Linked DNA regions of Homo sapiens: regions 2, 3 and 4 are each linked to region 1. The links are contacts of gene promoters, found by promoter capture Hi-C in human tissues and cell types (Jung and others, 2019). All regions are on one chromosome and are shown on one strand. Each heading gives the region's core, a stretch centred on a gene start or on the middle of the fragment in contact. The rest is flanking DNA. Distances are from core to core; before and after follow the strand shown. Region 1 holds the start of TAF13 (TATA-box binding protein associated factor 13). Region 2 overlaps PSMA5 (proteasome 20S subunit alpha 5). Region 3 overlaps STXBP3 (syntaxin binding protein 3). Region 4 holds the start of LOC105378891 (a long non-coding RNA gene).

Region 1 (3,694 bases), core at 724-3,223:
CTAGAATATACACTCTAAGATTAGCAGCAGGTACAAGTGGATTTTTAAAGGAAAAGAATGAGGACAGGGAGTGGGCTGATACAAAGTTGTCTTTAAGGAGTTCTCATTGGTTCACAAAAATAACATTGATTAGTAATTGGCTAAACATTATCAAGCTATAGGGTGTGCGATATGGTGTCTGATGGGGCATAATTAGGCTAATTTATAACTAATACTTGTGGCAATAGCAAGCGGTTTTAAGACATAAATACATAGCTCAAAAGGGGGCAAGCAGGATGTGATTGCCTCTCATTTTAATGCCTCTTTGGGCCTAATAATTTAACTCACATTCCTCAAATCAAAGTTATTTTTTCATTATTCACTATTCAAATTATTACAAGTGATGTTGCTTTTGGTGACGTTATTTCTTGAAATGGTACACAGCTCTTAATGAATTCCAGACCAAACAAAATACAATTACTATTCAATTTTGGGGTAATAACATTCCTAGAAACTTCAACGTACATTAAAAGTGTGGGAAAATGCTTTGTGTTTATTTTTTTAATTTTTATTTTTTGAGGTGGAGTCCCGCTCTGTCACCAGGCTGGAGTGCAGTGGCACAATCCCGGCTCACTGCAACCTCTGCCTCCCGGGTTCAAGCGATTCTCCTGCCTCAGCCTCCCGAGTAGCTGGGATTACAGGCGTGCGCCACTACGCCCAGCTAATTTTTGTACTTTTAATAGAGACGGGGTTTCATCATGTTGGCCAGGATGGTCTTGATCTCCTGACTTTGTGATCCGCCCACCTCGGCCTCCCAAAGTGCTGGGATTACAGGCGTGAGCCACTGCGCCCGGCCGCTTTGTGTTTATTAACAAAGATAGGTTCAACTCTCAGATAATTAGTTTTCACTCACCGAATGTTCAGCAGGACATTCAGAAATCGTGTGTATTACGGGATTTTCTTTATGTAGCATCATCTGTTACACTGTAGGGACATTTATATTATATCCCTAGCTCTGGCCTTCCGATGCCTGTGGTTTTGCCAGCCATTGTTCTGACCAAAAGCCTTCCCCGGTGGACACGGTGGCTCACACTTGTAATCCCAGCACTTTGGGAGGCAGAGCGGGGCAGATCGCTTGAGGCCATGAGTTCCAGACCAGCCTGGGCAATGTGGGGAAACCCCATCTCTACTAAAAATACAAAAATTAGCTGGGCATTGGTGGTGTGCGCCTGTAATCCCAGCTACTTGGAGGCTGAGGTGGGAGGATGGCTTGAGCCCAGCAGGTCTAGGCTGCAGTGAACCCTGATTGCGCCACTTCACTCCATCCCGGGGGACAGTGAGGTTGTGTCTCAAAAAAACAAAAATAAGGCCGGGCATGGTGGCGCACGCCTGTAATCCCAGCTACTCGGGAGGCTGAGGAAGGAGAATCACTTGAGCCCGGGAGGCAGAGGTTGCAGTGGGCCGGGATCGCGCCACTGCACACTTCAGCCTGGGCGACAGAGTGAGACTTCGTCTCAAAAAAAAAAAAAAAAAAAATCAAAAAACCTTCACAAAATTTTAAATGCTTAGTCTCGGGACACCATCTCTTGGAAATTTGTGATGAAGCACAGTATCCCCAATAATTAACACAGTGCTTAGAAACAGTGGAACTACAAATCTTTAAAATGATTTAAAAGCATATTTGTCTGATAAAGGACTGCTGGCTTGCCCTCCTATGATCCATAGCTTCGCAGTCCCCAAACAAGAAGCTGTGATTCAATACGCAGTAGCAAATTCAGGGTGACAACGAGATACTCGCGACCTAGCCCGTGATTTCCTTTTCTTTGTTAGTTTTCAATTCCTTCGGGATTACAGGGAGGCGCTCCGGCCTCCTCCCTTAGAGACTGTCGCATTTCCGCCGCTAGGCCGGAAAGCACCACCGTCCTCCCGCAGGCCGCAGAGGGCTAGGCCCAGCTACGGCCCCGCGCGTCACCGGAAGTGAGGCGGCGGAAGTAGTGTAACCAGCTGGGAGCCAGCCGGCAGGACGCTGTGAGTTGGCGTGCTAGTGGGATGGCAGATGAGGAAGAAGACCCCACGGTGAGTGACCGTCTCTGTCCAAAACCTGTCTTTTCTTCACTCCTTCGGGCTCAGTAGCGGAGGCAGAGTTCAGGATCGGGTCTGCTTGCCTTAGTGAATTCAGCGGACAGAGTTCGGGGACTTCACGCCCTAAGGATTGATCATTTTAGAAAGTGGGGAAGGACATGAAGGAAGAGTAGGTTTTGTGACCCCTTTCCCCTTGATTTTGGTCTGTATTTGCCAGACACTGAAACACGTACAGAATCATCAGAGATCAAAACTAACATCTATTAGCGCGCACTATGAGCCAACAGTTCAATTGTTAACAAAACTGTACTTACTGTGAAGTAATGGGAAAAGAATGCATTGAAAGTCAGACAGCCTGGATTTCAAAATTTCCATTCTCTCTGAGCAAGTTATTTAACTTTGAACATCAGTTTTCTTTTTATAAAATAGGGTTACGGGCTTACTTAAGGAACGTTTTTAGCACTGTATAAGCAAATGCATAGGAAATATTAGTTTTGCTTACTACAAAGTCTACAAAGGTAGACTTTGATTCAGTATCAACTGTTTAACAGTAACAGTAGTAATAGGCCACCTTAGTTGTTTAAAAATAAAACTTATGGTCATTGGAACTCTTACAAGTAGAAGCAGTAGGATTATTAGTTAGGAACATTGTAGAAGCCATTTTTGCATGAGTTGGAAGTTGGACTAGATACATAGGCTCCTTCAATGCTAAGGTTTCGTGGTTTTTTTTTTTGCTGCTTCCTTTGGCTTTCTGGCCTATCTGTTGAAAAGGAAAAAAAAATGTCATTATTAAAATATCAAATGCAAGGCAATTATTTGACATTTCTATATATACATTTTAACTTCTAGTTTGAGGAAGAAAATGAAGAAATTGGAGGAGGTGCAGAAGGTGGACAGGGTAAAAGAAAGAGACTTTTTTCTAAAGAATGTAAGTAGTATTTGACAATGATTTTGTTATAGATGATGAAAACTTTTGGACATGTCCTTTCAAAGTAGCTTTATTGCTTTGAATGTTTCCCTGTAGGGATAATATTCTCAGACTAGCCTATCAAATTCTGTTTAACTTTTGAATCAGATAGTACCAATCCTAACCCCAATTGTGTGTGTGTGTATAAATTGCTTTTTTTTTTTTTTTGAGACGGAGTCTCGCTCTGTCGCCCAGGCTGGAGTGCAGTGGCGCAATCTCTGCTCACTGCAAGCTCCGCCTCCCGGGTTCATGCCATTCTCCTGCCTCAGCCTCCTGAGTAGCTGGGACTACTGGCGCCGGCCACCACGCCCACCTAATTTTTTTTGTGTGTTTTTATTTTGCTTTATTTTATTTTTTTAATTTTTTTAGTATTTATTGATCATTCTTGGGTGTTTCTCAGAGAGGGGTATTTGGCGGGGTCATAGGACAATAGTGGAGAGAAGGTCAGCAGATAAACATGTGAACAAGGGTCTCTGGTTTTCCTAGGCAGAGGACCCTGCGGCCTTCCTCAGTGTTTTGTGTCCCTGGGTACTTGAGATTAGGGAGTGGTGATGACTCTTAACGAGCATGCTGCCTTCAAGCATCTGTTTAACAAAGCACATCTTGCACCGCCCTTAATCCATTTAACCCTGAGGGGACACAGCACATGTTTCAGAGAGCACGGGG
Region 2 (3,694 bases), core at 582-3,081, 340 kb before region 1:
CATAATTTTGTAAGATCATTAGTCAATAGTTACATTAGTATAACTAAATGCTTTTCACAGCTGAGCCATTTTGCATTTTATAATTATTTTTCTGTTTCTGCACAACATTGTTTTTCTTGGAGTTAATAATTCTCTTTTTAAAAATATTTGCTTAATTTAGGATGATCAATAATGCATTCCAAAGTCTCTCCAGGTTACATGTATCCTCTCAAAACATTCAGGCAAATTAAGTGTCCTATTAAGGATTCCTTTTTTTTTTTTTTTTTGAGACAGAGTCTTGCTCTGTCACCCAGGCTAGAATGCAGTGGCGCATCTCAGGTCACTGCAGCCTCAACCTACCAGGCTCAAGTGATCCTCCCGCCTCAGCCCCCAAAGTAGCCGGGACTACAGCTATGCACAACCATGCGCGGCTTGTTTTTTTTTTTTTTTTTTTTTTTTTTGAGACGGAGTCTCACTCTCTCACCCAGGCTGGAGTGCAGTGGCGCTATCTCAGCCCACTGCAACCTCTGCCTCCCAGGTTCAAGCAATTCTCCTGCCTCAGCCTCCTGAATAGCTGGGATTACAGGCGCGTGCCACCACACCTAATTTTTGTATTTTTAGTAGAGATGGTGTTTCACCATATCGGTCAGGCTGGTCTCGAACTCCTGACCCTGTGATCCACCTGCCTCTGCCTCCCAGAGTGCTGGGATTACAGATGTGAGCCACCGCGCCTGGCCTAAGTTTTTGTATTTTTTGTAGAGACGGGGTTTCGCTGTGTTGCACAGGCTGGTCTCGAGCTCCTGAGCTCAAGTGATCCGCCCACCTAGGCCTCCCAAAGTGTTGGAATTACAGGTATGAGCCACAGTGCCCTATTAAGGATTCTTAATGAAATCTTGGAGCCTTCTAATCTGCTCCAGTCTGGACTGGTTGTTCTCTGGGCCTCCTGTGTACCTGTGGACTTCATTTTCTGTGAGATCATTCTAGGCATTCCCTTTAACTCCCTCTTGTGTAAGGCCCCATGTCATCTTTTTTGATTTATTTGCTCAATTTGGTAGAACCCATTTTCCAGTAGTATTGTAGAAACTATTTATTTATTTATTTATTTTGAGGTGGAGTTTTGCTCTTGTTGCCCAGGCTGGAGTGCAATGGCGTGATCTCGGCTCACTGCAACCTCCGCCTCCCGTGTTCAAGCGATTCTCCTGCCTCAGCCTCCTGAGTAGCTGGGATTACAGGCATGCGCCACCACGCTGGCTAATTTTGCATTTTTAGTAGAGACGGGGTTTGTCCATGTTGGTCAGGCTAGTCTTGAGCTCCTGACCTCAGGTGATCTGCCCGCCTCACCCTCCCAAATTGCTGGGATTATAGGCATGAGCCACCGTGTTTGGCCAGAAATAATTTTTAATTTTCAACTTCTTTTGTTTCTTTTCTTCTTATTAGCATCCCGTTCTTGTTTTATGGATGAAATGTCTTGTTTTTCTTCAACAATTTTCTAATTTTTCTTGAAAATTTTTTTCCTTGTGGACATTGTTGCTCATCCCTATAATCTCAGTACTTTGGGAGGCTGAGGGAGGAGAATCACTTGAGCCTAGGAGTTCAAGACTAGCCTGGGCAACATAGCCCGTGTCTAGAAAAAATTTAAAAAATTAGGCTGGGCAAGGCTCACACCTGTAATCCTAGCACTTTGGGACGCTGAGGCAGGAGGACTGCTTGAGTCTAGAAGTTCAAGACCAGCCTGAGCAACATAGTGAGACTTTGTCTTCACAAAAAATTTAAAAAATTAGTTGAGTGTAGTAGTGTACACCTGTAGTCTTAGCTATTTTGCAGGCTTAGGTGGGAAGATCTCGTGAGCCTGGGAGGTTGGGGCTCCATGAGACGTGATTGTGCCACTGCACTCCATCGTGGGCAACAGAGTGAGACCCTGTCTAAAATATTTTTTTTTCCTTTTGAACTGGTCAGATTGTTTAGAGCTATGTTTTTCAAACTGCAGGTCTAGACCTATTAGGAGATAATAAAATAAATTTAGTGGTCATGAGGAGCATTTCTTTTGAGACAGAATGTCACTCTGTCACCTAGACTGGAGTGCAGTGGTACGATCACAGCTCACTGCAGCCTCAACCTCCCAGGCTCAAGTGATCCTCCCACCTCAGCCCCCAGCTACAGGCACATGCCACCACACCCAGTTATTTTTTTTTATTTTTTGTGGAGGTAAAGTTTTGCCATGTTGCCCAGGCTGGTCTCAAACTCCTGGGCTCAAGTGATCTTCCTGCCTCAGCCTCCCAAAGTGTTGTGATTATAGGCATGAGCCACCACTCCTGGCCCACATTTCTTTTTTAAGTGAAACAGAGCAGTAGATATCAAAATGCCTTGCCCATAGTAGTGATGAGTGGTTTTTTTCCTGAAATTTTGTTTCTGTTATGTATTTATATTTATTTGTGGGTTTTAGTTATGAAATCAAATGTATTCCTTACTGTGGCTTTTGGTCAAAAAGTTTGAAAAACATTGCTCAGGAGAAAACTGCCTCTTCTCATTTCATTCCGGGAGGGTATTTCTGGCTGCTGGCTTCTGAGAGCTGAGTAGGGAAAGAAGGCTGAGGTTCTTAACATTTGGTTTGGAAATTTTTACATATTTATCCCGTTTTCAGTACATTATTCCTGCCTTAGACTGTGCTTGGTGTCCCCAATCCAAAGACGCTCTATTTTACGGTCTCCAGAGAATAAGCCTGGAGTCTTCCACGGGAGTGGGGGAGGTGCAGTCGTCTAGCTTTACAGCATAGGGGAGGGGATCCGGGAATCTGTTTCTTAAACATTGAACCACCTTGCAATTTTTAGCTCCTTGTTCATTTCCATTTCCAGAGGTCCTTGTTGCCACCATTTCCTTTTTTGAGGTCCTGTGATAAAAATCAGGTTGTTTCTTTACTTTCTTTACGGCTGGTTTAGGATTTGGATTACCCAGGTATCACTAACCTATCTTCTTTTTAGCTTCAAAGTTTTGTTGCTGTGTCTTCTCCCACTCTCTGTTATAGTGGATTTATGCCTTTTTAGAAGTCCTTTAATCTTACATCAATAGACTTAAGGAAGGCGTGGAACTAATGTTATGTCTTTAGTCTGCACCTTTAACTAGAAATATGAGCATTCATTTTTATTTATTTATTTTTTGAGATGGGGTCTCACTCTGTTGTCCAGGCTGGAATGCAATGGCGTGATCTTGGCTCACTACAACCTCTGCCTCCCGGGCTCAAGCAGTCCTACCGTTTCAGCCTTCCGCGTAGCTGGGAGTACAGGCATACGCCACCAAGCCTGGCTAATTATTGTATTTTTTATAGAAACAGGGTTTCACCATGTTGCCCAGGCTGGTCTTGAACTCCTGGACTCATGCAATCTGCCCACCTCAGCCTCCCAAAGTGCTGGGATTACAGGCATGAGCCACCATGCCCAACCTGAGTACTCATTTTTTTACATAAAATTTTTTGACAGTTCATCTCCTGTAGTTATGCAGGTATCCACTGATTAAGAAAATACATGACAAAAAGCTGGTGTACATTTAATAACACTTCTAAATAAAGTCACAACTCAACACATTTGAAAAATAATATATATGCGTGTGAAATGATCATTCAGTCTGCAGACATGTTAAGCAAGTTATACATAAAGATTCGTGGGATTCTTTGGAACTCTTTGCAGTGCTCACACTTGGCAGTGATTACTTTGTAGAAATA
Region 3 (3,694 bases), core at 360-2,859, 280 kb after region 1:
ATCCAGTACTGTGGCCACTAGCCACATATGACTACTGAACACTTGAAATGGGATCAGTCTGAATTAAGATGTGCTGTAGGTACAAAACACCAGGAGACTTGAAGTAATACAATGCAAAATTATCTAATTAATAACTTTTTATACTGATTATATGTTGAAATAATATTTTGAATACATCAGGTTGTCAAAGTTTTTTTTTTCTTTTTTTTTTTTAAAGAGACAGGGTCTTGCCCAGGCTGCCCTCAAACTCCTGGGATCAAGCAATCCTCCCACCTCAGCCTCCTGAATAGCTGGGACTATAAGCACACACCACTGCACCCAACTTATTCGTAAAATTAATTGCACTTTTTAATTTTTACCTGCATTAACATGGCTATTAGAATAATTAAAATTACATGCAGCTTGTATTCTATGAGGGGCAATGGTCTAAACAGTTGAGGCATGATATAAAAGGCCCCTTGTAAAATGAGCTCTGCTGGATGCTATATTAAATCCCGTACTGAGAAGGTCCTGCCAATAATGCCACCCTGAAATCATGCTCCCAAAATTTAAATCATTCCATTAAACAAAAAATATATAATATATTAGGAGGGACTGTTTACTAAGATACTCTACAGCTACTTGTTAATGTTAGCGGGGAATGACATTAAATACTGCCTAGGTGGCTCCCCTGATAAGAGAGAGTCTGTGATTCTGTAAAAACCAACCACTGTATCAAGCAAAAAGTTAGGTTTTAACTTACAAAGTTTATCCTTGAAATTTGTTATGAACAGAGGCATTTCTGACTCTGCACATACCTGTTCAGTTTTGCAGAGCTTTTCTATATTAAGCTTGAACTTATTCATGCAATCTTCTGCTAAGTTAAGATGGACAACTTGCTGAAAAACAGAAGAAATCAATCATTTAAAGGATTTTAATGACTTTTGTGCAACTGGTAATATTAAACTTTTGAGACAGGCCTGAAAGAAAGTATGGGCTGAGGTGAAAGAAGGTAACATGTAAGCAAGGGAACAGCTCAAGAAAGGAAGTAAATGAGAAGGTGATTTACAGGTGAAATGGTTTGGCTATGTCCCCACCTAAATCTCATCTTGTAGTTCCCATAATCCCCATGTGTTGTGGGAGGGACCTGATGGGAAGTGTTTGGAACATGGGATGATGGGAGTGATTTTCCCCATGCTGTTCTCATAATAGTAAGTGAGTTCTCATGAGATCTGATGGTTTTACAAGTGTCTGGCATGTGCCCTGCTTGTACTTCTCCCTCCTGTAGCTTTGTGAAGAAGGTGCCTGGCTTCCCCTTTGCTTTCTGCCATGACTGTAAGTTTCCTAAGGCCTTCCCAGCCATGTAGATCTGTGAGTCAATTAGACCGCTTTCCTTTATAAATTACCCAGTCCTGGGTATTTCCTTACAGCAATGTGAGAACAGACTAATACAACAGGAGGCAATCAACAGACAGCATAAATGGGATGGAAGCATTGAATTGTTGAATTTGTGTTGAGTTTGACAGTAATGAAAAATAACATGAGAAAAATACCCAGAAGTTCTTCAAGTTCATATTCTATTTATCTTTCTAAATGTTTCAAGTATTTTAACACACACAAAAATCATTGGTTGACTAGGGTGCAACATGACAAAAATGTTAAGATTATTCTGATAGTGTTTTTAAGGAGCAAAAAAATAGTTTACCTGACTAAACAGCTTAAATGCTCTTAAATCTACTAGTAAGTAACTATTACTTTAAAGAAACATGTAGAATAACATCCACTAGTCAATCTAGTGCTGAATTTCTTGTAAGGTTGATAAATGTGACTCTGTTAGGCTATTCAAGACAAAGATATAGAAACTTTAAGCTGGATTCAGATAAATCTAGGTTATACATATAGAGAAGTTATGAAGAAGCTTAGATATATGGGATATCTCTCAGACCTATAGTAAGGTTTTAGAGGACAAATAACACCAAGTATTCCACGAAACCCACTGCTAAATCGAACTACAGAACTGAATATAAACTGAATATAAACTAAAACTAATCAGGTATCTCATATACAATACTGCTTACCTTAGTAATCTGTTTTCGGAAATGGGGCATCTTTTTCATCAGCTGGGTAAGAGCACTAAGTGATGTCTAGGAAAAATCAAACATTTTTTTAGGCAAGCCTATGATTCAGTTATTCCATATTACAACTTTGAAATCCTAGAGTTTTACAAATTATCAAATCTAGTTAATTTACTGAATATTTGACAATTTTTTTGAAAGAAGAATTTAGGAGGCTTCCAGTTTCACTCACAATAACGTAGCTGATATCAACATTACTCTCCCTTCATAAATAAATAAGATTGGACAAATAAATAAAACAATAGCTTTCAAGTAATGGATAAAAATAGCTCACAGCTGAGACAGCTGAGTGAAGGAAAGCACCAAAGGTGATCCCTGCACGCACCCTTCCTTTCCCTAAAGATGTTTTCCAAACACCACTGAAAGGAAATACAGTTCAAGTAGAGAGCAATTATCTCCCTGGGTGCAAAAAAAAAAAAAAAAAAAAAAAAAATGGAGATAAGAGCTTGGGGCTGTGAGGTAGATTTTGGGAAGCAGAGTGCTAAAAAGAAAGGAGCTAGACAGAACATAACCCAAAAATGTGTAAAGAGATTGTCCTTGAACCCCTAAGCTGCACATGTACAGGGCATAACCCTCAAAGGTGTAGTAAAGAACAACTTCTGGGTGGCTAAATGTTGGACAAGATTTCAGAGGGGTCTTAGTGCTAAGAATATACTAGCATCTCCTGATCTAGACAAAGTAAAGAGACCTAAGTGAACATCCTACACATTCAGTCCTGGGACTATGCCTTAGGACTCAGTGCAAAAGTGAAATAAATTTACCATAACATTGTCTAACATGAAGTTACAACAGAATCACGATTATTCCTCAGCAACTTAACTGCCTGCCAGAACAAAACTCAACATTCTGTGTAGAGACAGCATCATCTAGAACCTCTGCAATGTATCATCCACCATGTCTAGCACAATAAAACATTAATAGGTGAAACAGGAAAGTGATTGATACTCAAGTGACAAAACAGTCAATAAAAGTAGACCCAAGATAAGGAATAAGTTCTAGTGTTTGATATCACAATGATGGCTATAGTTAACATATATTTTGTATTTCAAAATAGCTAGAGGAAAAGATTGGAAATGTCCCCAACACAAAGAAATAATAAATGTTCAAGGTGATGGGTATTCTAAATACAATGATTTGATCATTACACACTGTATGCACGTATAAACATATTACATGCCTCATAAATATGTACAGTTACTATGCATCAATAAAAAAGCTAAGAAAAGAACACCTCAAAATGTAAAAACAAAGAAACTCCCAAAAAGTAGACCTAAGATGTTGTTGGCAGAAAAAGACTTCAAAGTAACACATTTATGTTAAAGTGGAAACAGAGGAAAAGATGGACTACATGGATCAAAAGATGGAGTATTTTAACAGAGAACTAGAATTTATTTTCTAAAAATCCAATGAATGTCCTAGAGTTAAATATAAGACTTTAAGTTAGCAAATGATAACATCTGTTCATAGACATGAATGTCTGATATGAAGAAGGTGAATATTTTTAGTAGCTTTATTCATAATTGCCAACAACTGGAAAAACTAAAATGTTCTGAAACTGGTAAATTGATAAACAACTTGTG
Region 4 (3,694 bases), core at 308-2,807, 260 kb after region 1:
AACAGTTTCCTATTTCAAATCACTAACTCGAATCCCCAGGCCACTTTCAAATGTTTCCATACGCATGCGCTGTATCCCTGAATACCCTCTCAGTGGTTATGGCCCCCCAATCCCCATCAATGGCCTCTAAGAGCTGTTCTTTTTTTCTCTTTCTCTGCGGCAGGGAAACAGCCCAGCTGGCGGCTGACCTCACCCTCTGATTCATGCTCATCAGTCACGTGCTGGTCTTTTTTTCAATCCCTTTCCCTAACAAATATATTCCATCTCAGACTGGTCTCCTAGGAAACCAACCCTCAAAAACAGAAATAGACCAAGAGGAAAACAGGAATACTCCCCAAATTCCACCTTGTAATGTTTAATAATGAGAGAACCCAAAGAACAGAAACAGCAGTTAGTTTATGTAATTAAAATGTGTGGACTTTTCCTCTGTAGATTTTAAACTCGGCTTTGGATCATGCCCTAAGGACAGCAACCATTTTGAAAGAAACTACAGATCAAATGATTAAAACGATTGCAGAAGACCTTGCTAAAGCACAGAGGTGGAGGAATCGACTGAAATACTAGTTCAACGCTAGGCTACCAAGGATTCAAAAGAAAAAAATGCAAAGAAAACTTGATCTTCCCCCAAAATGTATTTTACTTACTACACAATTTAGGAAGATGACTTTCTAGAGAAAACACAGAAACCATAAGAAATGGGTAACACAAAGTACTTAAAGGAAAAAGAAAAAAGAAAGGACTTCTGATTCTTAAAATCAAAAGCAACCAACAAGTATTTATTTTAAAATAAATCTATGTTCTTCTTAACTCATAATAAAAGAAATCAAAACAAAACAATGAATTTCCTTTTATCTATTAGTCTGAAAAAAGATTAAAGTTTGAAGAAACCCTGTGTCAGTGAGGATGGAGGGAAACTGGTACTCTCATATGCTGTTGGCAGAAATGCAACCTTTTTGGAAGACTATTTGGTAATATCTACCAAGTTCCACAAATTCCAAATCATGTACCTTCAGAGCAGCAATTCCACTTCTAGGAATTTCTTTTACATATAAGCCACACAATGTGGCATGATATATGTACAGGGAAGGGCACTGGAGCACTGATGGTAACAACCCCAAGGGGGAACTAATCTAAATACCCCCTGTGATGATTCATAAATGACAATACTTTGTGGCCACCGAAAAGAATGAGGTTGGATTATCTGCAAAAGTCAGTGAAAGAAGCAAGATGCCTAAGCATATATATAGAGAGTTGTAACCTCTGGGGTCTTTCTATGTTGCCCAGGCTGGACTTGAACTTCAAGCAATCCTCCCGCCTTAGCCTACTGAGTGGCTGGGACTACAGGCACACACCAATGTGCCTGGCTCTTCATTTGTGTATTTTTTTTAAAAGGGCATACGTATTTTCAGGAAAGATACCTAAAAATCTGAAGTGAACCTCTAGTAAAGGAAACTGGGAGTTTTGGGGGAGAAAGGGGTTTTTACCTTCTTTTCTGTACTATATGAAATTCTCACAATATACTTATAAGTCAAAATTATTTGTTTAAAGATCGCTTGAAGTCAGAAATATGTGAAAATAATAGCCTTAATGAAATTTTGGAAAAGACAATTCATTAAAACTGTGTACCAGAGATTAAGTACATTTTCATGCAGACCAGAGCAGGCTTTTTTTTTTTTCCTTCCAGATCAAGCTTTTGCTTTCCTTCTTTAAGAGTGATTTATTACCTCCTTAGTGACAGCACAGCAGGGTATTGGCTCTTTCCCCCTTCCCTGAAACTTCTGATTTTCATTCACCCTAGACATTCAACAAATGGTTTCCCAACTCCCAGAGTTTGGCTCAGTGGTCAGGAGGGAGTTGAATCTATTCCCACTTTAGATTTTCGTGCCAATGTGAGCAGCTGGTATTCGTCTAGCTGGCTGGAGAATGGACTGTTTTTAACTTTGGGGTTTGTAAATTGGTTTAGGGTGCCCTGGAAGAGATAATGCACAGGTCAGTCTGAAAATACCTCTGACTTTATGGCCAAATTTACTTCAGGCTGTGGCACTGTAAGGAAGATAGCAAGGAACCATGGCTGGTATTAGAAAAAACAGAGCTTAAACTGTGTATGTTCTATTAAATAAAACTTATGGGAGGTCATTTTTTTGGACTAAGCTCCTACAGGGGACCCCAACAGACCAGACCAAACTAGAATGGAGTCACTCATGCTAGGTGCCACGTAATCAAACTGAACTTTAAAATAGGTCAGTTTAAAAGAAAAAAAAAAGACCCAGAACATTCACAGTATCCCATTAGAAGGGGCCCCGTCAACCTGAGCTGGCATAAGGAAGTCCCCTCTGCTTTAACCCATATAAAGACACCTTTTGTTCCTTGTTTCCATTTTCTTCTGTTTTTTTCTGCCTATAAAGCCCACTCCTGTGCTCAGCCTTTCTATTTCATAGATAGGATGCTGCCTGATTCATAAATTGCTAATAAAAGCCAATTAGGTCATTAGACTTAATTTGTTGACATTTTGGTTTTTGGCAGTTCCAAGAGGCTTCCAGTATCATCACATATCTAAATTTAATCACAACTTGCTAATCTGTTTTGTATGTTAGTACCACTATCTCATCCCCAAGTTTAAAATCATATACTTCTCTGGCTTGAAGTGTTCTTATATGATTCATTAGTTCTTAACCTTTTTTGGGCTCATTTTTTGGGAATCTGGTGAAAGCTATGGAGTCTCCCTTCCCCCATGCTCTGCCTTCTCGTGGAAAAGAATACATTCATTTTTAAAAGTTCGTGGACACCATGAAACAAATCCATGGAACCTTGGTTAGAAACGTCTACCATTAACGAATATTTCTAAATCCCTCAAATTAACATTTATAGAAATTGGTAATTATAATCATTTTTGATTTAAAAATATGGCCCATTTCTGCTTTATCAAACCATATTCTAAATGTAATTTTCCATTTCCTTGAAGATTAGGGGTCATTATGAGCAATCACTGCAACACGACTAATCTAAGAAATAGCAAAAAAGGGCAGGCAATGCCCTTAAGGAGTTCCACAAAGACACTAGGCTCTGATTTACAAGGATAATTTTATACTTACTGATCCTGTAGTCTTGGCCATCTCCTCCCTCATGCAATTCTTGTGTCAATTCTAATGACCTCTCTTCTAATTCTGTTCGAGTAATAAACCAGAAAAACAAGCTTGTGAAGTAAAAGTAATGGTACCCCTAATGCTGGCATCAAGGGACTCAGCATTGCCTGAGGGCTGTAAAGAAACACCTGGCAGTCTCCAGGGTGCACAGGCCTCTCAGTATTTACTCCAAGGTCTAGCTGTGCTCTGGCCGCTGGAAGCTGCCAGCAGGATGCAATGGGACTGTCTATAGAGGGCTTTTTATCATCTTTTTATTATTTTTTTTTATTTTTATTTTTTTTGAGACGGAGTCTCACTCTGTCGCCCAGGCTGGAGTGCAATTGCGGGATCTCGGCTCACTGCAATCTCTGCCTCCCAGGTTCAAGTGATTCTCCTGCCTCAGCCTCCCGAGGGATTATAGGCACCCACCACCACACCCAGCTAATTTTTGTATTTTTAGTAGAGATGGGATTTCACCATGTTGGTCAGGCTGGTCTCCAATCCCTGACCTCAGGTGATCTGCCTGCCTCGGCCTTCCAAAGTGCTGGGATTACAGGCGTGAGCCACTGCGC

The links. The method cuts DNA at HindIII sites, captures the fragments that hold promoters and counts their contacts. A contact is called where the count stands out against the background at its distance.
Region 2: a fragment that was not itself captured here is called in contact with the fragment with the promoter of TAF13 in region 1 in 1 of the 25 tissues and cell types used here (hippocampus).
Region 3: a fragment that was not itself captured here is called in contact with the fragment with the promoter of TAF13 in region 1 in 2 of the 25 tissues and cell types used here (adrenal gland and pancreas).
Region 4: a contact is called between a fragment that was not itself captured here and the fragment with the promoter of TAF13 in region 1, in 1 of the 25 tissues and cell types used here (dorsolateral prefrontal cortex).

The regions. Positions count from the first base shown.
Region 1 is chr1:109,074,282-109,077,975 of GRCh38, reverse strand. TAF13 (TATA-box binding protein associated factor 13) reads left to right here and starts at 1,973. Exons shown (of 4, transcript NM_005645.4): 1 at 1,973-2,055; 2 at 2,911-2,989. The coding sequence starts at 2,029. RefSeq lists enhancers at 1,716-1,965, 2,066-2,125, 2,730-3,694. The HindIII fragment of the contact is 17,261 bases long and covers 1-3,694 here.
Region 2 is chr1:109,416,545-109,420,238 of GRCh38, reverse strand. The region is part of intron 2 of PSMA5 (proteasome 20S subunit alpha 5); the gene reads left to right. Among named protein-coding and RNA genes, the nearest start is that of PSMA5, 8.1 kb to the left of the region's middle. The HindIII fragment of the contact is 7,328 bases long and covers 1-3,694 here.
Region 3 is chr1:108,792,011-108,795,704 of GRCh38, reverse strand. It overlaps STXBP3 (syntaxin binding protein 3), which reads right to left. Exons shown (of 19, transcript NM_007269.4): 12 at 2,058-2,123; 13 at 798-878. Among named protein-coding and RNA genes, the nearest start is that of STXBP3, 47 kb to the right of the region's middle. The HindIII fragment of the contact is 3,217 bases long and covers 1-3,217 here.
Region 4 is chr1:108,813,041-108,816,734 of GRCh38, reverse strand. AKNAD1 (AKNA domain containing 1) reads left to right here. Exons shown (of 16, transcript NM_152763.5): 16 at 433-834. The coding sequence ends at 564. LOC105378891 (a long non-coding RNA gene) reads right to left here and starts at 3,145. Exons shown (of 5, transcript XR_947687.3): 1 at 3,093-3,145. The HindIII fragment of the contact is 4,821 bases long and covers 1-3,694 here.